Regions from separate parts of the Homo sapiens genome. Here region 2 is linked to region 1. Evidence: promoter capture Hi-C in human tissues and cell types (Jung and others, 2019). All regions are on one chromosome and are shown on one strand. The core of a region is centred on a gene start or on the middle of the fragment in contact, and the rest is flanking DNA. Distances in the headings are between cores, read along the strand shown. Region 1 holds the start of SAP25 (Sin3A associated protein 25). Region 2 overlaps ZKSCAN1 (zinc finger with KRAB and SCAN domains 1).

Evidence for each region. The method cuts DNA at HindIII sites, captures the fragments that hold promoters and counts their contacts. A contact is called where the count stands out against the background at its distance.
Region 2: a fragment that was not itself captured here is called in contact with the fragment with the promoter of SAP25 in region 1 in 1 of the 25 tissues and cell types used here (spleen).

What each region holds. Positions count from the first base shown.
Region 1 is chr7:100,572,641-100,575,997 of GRCh38, reverse strand. SAP25 (Sin3A associated protein 25) reads left to right here and starts at 2,098. Exons shown (of 6, transcript NM_001348680.2): 1 at 2,098-2,401; 2 at 2,598-2,701; 3 at 2,786-2,892; 4 at 2,985-3,138; 5 at 3,247-3,344. The coding sequence starts at 2,256. LRCH4 (leucine rich repeats and calponin homology domain containing 4) reads left to right here. Exons shown (of 18, transcript NM_002319.5): 16 at 1-127; 17 at 216-293; 18 at 694-1,987. The coding sequence ends at 891. RefSeq lists enhancers at 126-679, 680-1,234. The HindIII fragment of the contact is 26,041 bases long and covers 1-3,357 here.
Region 2 is chr7:100,040,662-100,043,815 of GRCh38, reverse strand. ZKSCAN1 (zinc finger with KRAB and SCAN domains 1) reads right to left here. Exons shown (of 6, transcript NM_003439.4): 6 at 2,127-3,154. Among named protein-coding and RNA genes, the nearest start is that of ZSCAN21, 7.5 kb to the left of the region's middle. The HindIII fragment of the contact is 5,629 bases long and covers 1-3,154 here.

The sequences.
Region 1 (3,357 bases), core at 849-3,348:
CCGGCTGCAGCGGCCCCTGCCTGAGGACCTGGCCGAGGCTCTGGCCAGTGGGGTCATCCTGTGCCAGCTGGCCAACCAGCTACGGCCGCGCTCCGTGCCCTTCATCCATGTGCCCTCCCCTGCTGTGGTCAGTTGGGGCTGGGGAAGAGGTGGGGGATGGGCCGGGGCGCCTGTGGCCTCTCCCTTACCACATTTTCTTCTTTCACCCACCCCAGCCAAAACTCAGTGCCCTCAAGGCTCGGAAGAATGTGGAGAGTTTTCTAGAAGCCTGTCGAAAAATGGGGGTGCCTGAGGTATGGGGGCTGCTTTCTAAAGAGTGGTGGCATGCCGGACTCAGCCGAGCATGTGGCATGGATGGTGGGCTTCCATTTGCAGCGGATGTCTGCTCTCAGATGAAGGCACAGGCTGCCCCTGCCCTGCCCAGCATGCCCCCTGCCCTGCATGCCCCCTGCCCTGCATGTCACCTGTCCTACACATCCCCTGCCCTGCAGGCCCCATCTTGTCCTGCATGTCACCTGTCCTGCACATGCCCTGCCCTGCACTCCTCCTGCACTGCACTCCCCCTGCCCAGCACGTCAGCATGTGGGCGTGGTTCTGGCCCCAGCACGTGAGGGCAGGGGTGGGAGGGACTGTCCTGCTGCTGCTGCTGACGTCTGTCCCTTGTCCTTGTCCACCTGCTCTCCTCTCCCCCAGGCTGACCTGTGCTCGCCCTCGGATCTCCTCCAGGGCACTGCCCGGGGGCTGCGGACCGCGCTGGAGGCCGTGAAGCGGGTGGGGGGCAAGGCCCTACCGCCCCTCTGGCCCCCCTCTGGTCTGGGCGGCTTCGTCGTCTTCTACGTGGTCCTCATGCTGCTGCTCTATGTCACCTACACTCGGCTCCTGGGTTCCTAGGCCCCAAAATCGGCCCTCCCTCACCCCTTTCCCTTCCTCTCTATTTATAAGGTCCCTGCTCCACCCGACCCCACCTGCGGTGCCTTCAGCCCCAACCAAAGACACTAGTGCACCCCCTTCACAGACACTGACCTCAGAGGCCCCACTCTGGTGCCCCCAGACCCTGGGCCCCCAGCCTCTGGCCTCCCTCCAGTAGCCCCACGAGTCCCCACCTCTCAGTGCTGACGGTGCCTTCATGTCCCCGCCGGCCCTGCCCCTGCCCTCTGTACCCCGTGAGGGGTGGCAGGAGCTGGAGTCTCCCCCTTCCTCCTGTGCCCTCCCCTTCCCCCCCCAACAGCTGCTATGGGGGGGCTAAATTATCTCTATTTTGTAGAGAGGATCTATATTTGTAGGGGTTCGGGGCCCAGGCCGGGTCCCTATCTCTGTGTATAAACTGTACAGACCGTGGCCGCCCTGCCTGTGTGTGTGTGTGTGCGCGCGCGCGCGCGTCTGCTCCGCGTGTTGGTGGCTGTGGCCATGGCTCTGTGCCCACCAGCATCTCCCTCCTGAGATGCCGGCCTCTCATGCTCCCGGAGCGTCCGCCAACCCCCCGTGTCACCTCCCTTCTGTTATCGCTGACAGCTTTCTTGCGTCTCATTTGTCGCCGAGCCCCGAGCGCACGGTGATGCTCGGGTCTGCCCCCGACCCCCTGCCACAGGCCGGAAGCCGCAGGGGGCACCGTGGGGAAGCTAACCCGGCCCCTTCCCCCAGGAGTCACTGTGCCAGCCCCACCACATCCTGGAAGAGGAGGGGGCCCCGGGAAGGGGCCTCCCCTACATCGCTGCTGTCGTCCACGCCCTGCTGGACCGGCCTTAGGGGTGAAGGTGGGGGCACAGGGCCCACCCCGCCCGGGACCCCGGGAGCAGAAGACGCGCCTGGGCTCCGCGCTCTCAGAGAAGCACGTGGTGAGGGTGGCCTGGGCCTGGGCACCCTTGGCCTGCCGGCCTGGCTGCCTCTGGGGTCGAGGGTCTGGGTGGAAGGACCGCGGGTGTCGCAGGTGTCGTGTCAGCCGCAATAAACAGAAGCCAGAAGCCCTCTGGGTGGCCCTCAGGTGTAACTGTGTCTGAGAGCACGTGCGTCGCGGGGTTGTTGGGGGGGCCTCTGTTTCCGGAATTCACCGCCCAGTCGCCAGGGGGCGCCCGCGGGAGCCCGGCGGGGGCACGCGCCACGTGGCCGGGAGACGCACAGGGCGCCAGCGTCGCCGCGAGGCCTCTGGGGTGGGTTCGCCAGGAGGGCACGTTCGCGCCGCGCCGCGGAGGGAGGCTGAGAGGGCCGGGCCGGGCGGCGGGGACACGGCGGTACCGTCCTGCGCTCGGGAACGCGGAATGTTGCCCTGGTCGCCGCCGCGGTGGGGCGCGGGCCCGGAGGAGGCGCCCGAGGGACCAGGCCTTCCGGCGGGCAAGGACCAGGGCGAGCCCTGGAGCGCCGGAGCGGACGCCCCCAGGGAGCTGGGGACACCCCCATGGGACAGGTGAGGGGCTCGGACGGAGCCGTGGGGGGACAGCGACTGGGGGCCTCCATGCCTTCACCACGCGCTCTACGGAGGCTTCTCCATTGTCCCTGCTGGAGATTGGGTCCCTCGGTCTCCCTTGCACCAGGCACCCTTGGGCTCCAGGGGAGGGTGCGTGGGGGCGGTGTGGCTGCAGCCTCAGTCCCTGCCCCTCCAGCCCACAGCCCCCATCCCGTAGCCCTTCCTGGATCTGGAGAGAGCAGCTGCTGCTGCCCCACCACCTGCCAGGCCCGGCCACTGAGCAGCCCCCCGGAGCCCCAGGTAGGACAGGCCCTGCTGCCTCTACTACCCCTAAGAGCCTCTCACTGACTGTGAGCCTGTTATAATCCCCAAGCGTCCCCCCAGATCCCCGTTCCCCCCAGGTGGCCTGGGAGGTGGCCCCCTCGAGGATGACTCCACTAGCGCCCTGGGACCCCAAGTATGAAGCCAAAGCAGGACCTCGGCCGGTGTGGGTGAGTTGGGGGCAAACCTGTGGGACTGGCTGGGGTGCTCAGGGAGCTGTGCGGTGGCCTGAGGCTCCAGTGCTCTGTCCTCCTCACCCTAGGGGGCCAACTGTAGCTCAGGAGCCTCGTTCTCAGGCCGGACGCTGTGTCACCCCTCATTCTGGCCGCTGTATGAAGCAGCCTCGGGCAGGGGTCTCAGGCCCGTGGCCCCTGCCACAGGGCACTGGAATGGACAGCAGGCGCCCCCAGATGCAGGTACCTCCCTTGGTCCCCCGGGGGCGCAAGGCTGCCCCAACTCCTCTGGGAACCAGTGCCCAGGGGTGGGAGCCCGCAGCCCGCCACCCTAGTGGTGTTTCCTCCTAGGGTTCCCGGTGGTGTGCTGTGAAGATGTCTTCCTCTCGGACCCTCTGCTGCCCCGGGGGCAGCGTGTTCCCCTGTACCTGTCCAAGGCCCCCCAGCAGGTGAGAGCTCTTT
Region 2 (3,154 bases), core at 518-3,017, 530 kb after region 1:
GAGAGATTCTGTCTCCAAAAAAAAAAAAAAAAAAAAAAAAAAAATCAAGAAAGAAAAGAAAAAGAAAAAAGCCTAAGTAGATATGGAGGGTGGGAGGTTTTTGCTAAACTTAGCAGGGTTCTTGCTAAAACTGGATTTTAGGCCCTTGCATGGTGGCTCATGAATATAATCCCAGCACTTCGGGAAGCTGAGGTGGGAGGATTGCTTGAGGCCCAGGAATTTGAGACCAGCCTGGGCAACATAGCAAGACCCTGTCTCTGCAAAAAATTAAAAAAAAATCTAGGCGTAGTGATGCATGCCTGTAGTCCCAGCTGAGGCTGAAATAGGAGGATTGCTTGAGTCCAGGAGGTTGAGGTTGCAGTGAGCCACAATCGTGCCACTGCACTCCAGCCTGAGCAACAGAACGAGACTTGTCTTACAAAAATAAAGAAAAATAAAATCCAGTTCTGGGTCGGGCACAGTGGCTCACGCCTGTAATCCCAGCACTTTGGGAGGCCAAGGTGGGAGGATTGCTTGAGGACAGGAGTTCGAGACCAGCCTGGGCAACATAGGGGGACCCCCATCTCTATAAAAGAAAAAATAATTATTAAGAAAAAATAGGGCTGGGTGTGGTGGCTCACACCTGTGAGGCCAAGGCAGGCAGATCACTTGAGCCCAAGAGTTCAAGACCAGCTTGGGAAATAGCCAGACTGTCACTACAAAAAATACCCAAAAAAGGCCAGGTGCGGTGGCTCACGCCTGTAATCCCAGCACTTTGGGAGGCCTAGGCAGGCAGATCATGAGGTCAGGAGATCGAGACCATCCTGGCTAACACTATGAAACCCCGTCTCTACTAAAACATACAAAAAAAGTTAGCCGGGCACAGTGGCGGGCGCCTGTAGTCCCAGCTACTCGGGAGGCTGAGGCAAGAGAATGGCGGGAACCCGGGAGGCGGAGCTTGCAGTGAGCCGAGATGGCGCCACTGCACGCCAGCCTGGGAGACAGAGCGAGACTCCGTCTAAAAAAAAAAAAAAAAAAACCCAAAAATTACCTGGGTGTGGTGGTGTATTCGTATACACACACACACACACACACACACGTGTATCTATACACATATACACATACACATGTGTATATATAATAAAAATATATATGAGACCTATGAGCCATCCCAGCAAATTATCAAACCTGAGACTGAGGAGAAGATTGTGGAAGCCCTTGATTTATAGCCGGTCCAAAGCACAGGTGAAAACCCGGAATGTAAGACTGGCGTCTGAAATGGGGGCAGTCTTGAGGGACTGAGCCCACAACCTGTGGAGTCTGCATCAGTTACAGGTAGTGTCAGAATTGAATTGAATCGTATGGCACCCAGTTGGTGTCCAGAGAATTGGTTGGTGTATGAAAAAAAATCCCACATTGTGTCAGAAGTGTGAGTAAAAACAGTCAGAGATGTGTTTGGATGCCTCCTGGACACAACCTCACATCCTCCCAGTTCACCTTTTTTTTTTTTTTTTTTTTGAGACAAAGTCTCACTCTGTTGCCCAAGCTGGAGTGCAGTGGTGCGATCTCGGCTCACTGCAACCTCCCCCTCCTGGGTTCAAGTGATTCTCCTGGCTCAGCCTCCCGAGTAGCTGGGACTACAGGCGCCCGCCACCACGCCTGGTTAATTTTTGTATTTTTAGTAGAGAGGGGGTTTCACCATGTTGGCCAGGCTGGTTTCGAACTCCTGGCCTCAGGTGATCTGCCTGCCTCGGCCTCCCAAACTGCAGGGATTACAGGCATAAGCCACCATGGCTGGCCATGTCTATCAGTCTTAAAGAGTCTGTTGTTATCAGTAATTCCATATGGGGAGAGGGTATAATGAGGCATGTTTGGCTCCCCCTTCCCATCATGGCCTGAACTAGTTTTTCAGGTTAACTTTGGAATGCCCTTGGCTGAGAGGAGAGGTCCATTCAGGTGACTGGGTGGCCTTTGAAATTTAATTTTGGTTTGCAAAGTAAACAGATAGTTTTGCATGAGAATTTTGTTTGTGGGTTGCAGCTCCAGTCTTTTAACTTTGGAATACTTTTTTTTCTTCACCCCCAATGTGTATTTATGCAACCAAGGATGAGAAAAACAAAGAACAAAAAACAAACCAGCACAAGCACTGCCACCTAGAGATGATAATTTATTGTTTTACCATGACTCAGAAGAGAAACAACATAAAGAGAATATTTCAAATCCCCACAATTTCCTTCCTCAACCTCACTACTCTTAACATTTCTTTATCAGACGCCACTGGCTTCCTAAAATGGACCACTGACTATGTATGTGTACACATTTCATTATGCTGCCTTTTCTCTTATGATTAAAACTTTAGCCCTCATTCGAGGTTTCCAATGGTTACTTTTAGTGGAGGAGTTCCCTAGCTTTTAAAAAACCACTTTTCCTCTAAGATTCCATTATTTATTGAAAGAAGTCTTTCTAGAAATGTTAAGGAGGATTTTAAATGAACACATTCAATTAAAAAAAAAATCACGTATTGAACATCTACCAAGCATCTGGACTCTTCGGAACCTAGTAAAATGAAAAAATCCAGTTTTAACAACAGTAACTTCATTCTGCGGGTATACAGAGACAAGCACGTTTCTTCTTTTGGTCTAATTTATTCTAAACGAAGAAGCTGGGAACTGACAAAACAGGACAGGTTGTTTTTAATCCAGTCTACAAATAAACAAGACAATGCCTGAGTTAGCCCTCTATATAGATTTAGGCTTATGCTGACCTCGTTGTAAAATCTGTATTTAACTAAAAGTTAATAAAAATACATATGTTCATTTTAAAATAATTACTGATTTTGCTTGGCTATCCCACCCCTTACCCCCAAACTCATATATTTTTAGGACAAGATTTTCCTGCATAACCACAACCTGTCTCCTCCCACCCCACCCCCATCATAGATGTTTTCAAATAAGAACCCCTGCGATCAGCAGAAGCATCTCTAATCTAACATGCTTTGTCCTTGCTAGGGCAGGCTAAAAGCTTTAAAAAGCAACCGGATGCTCTTCTCTGGTTGAGGTGAGGGGAAGGCGCTCGGGTACCAACCCCAGCACACCCCAACAGCCTTTCCTCGGCCCCTCCTCAGGCCTCCTAATTACTCTTTCTCAGCCTGGAGTGTGGGGCCGTTACCGTCCTC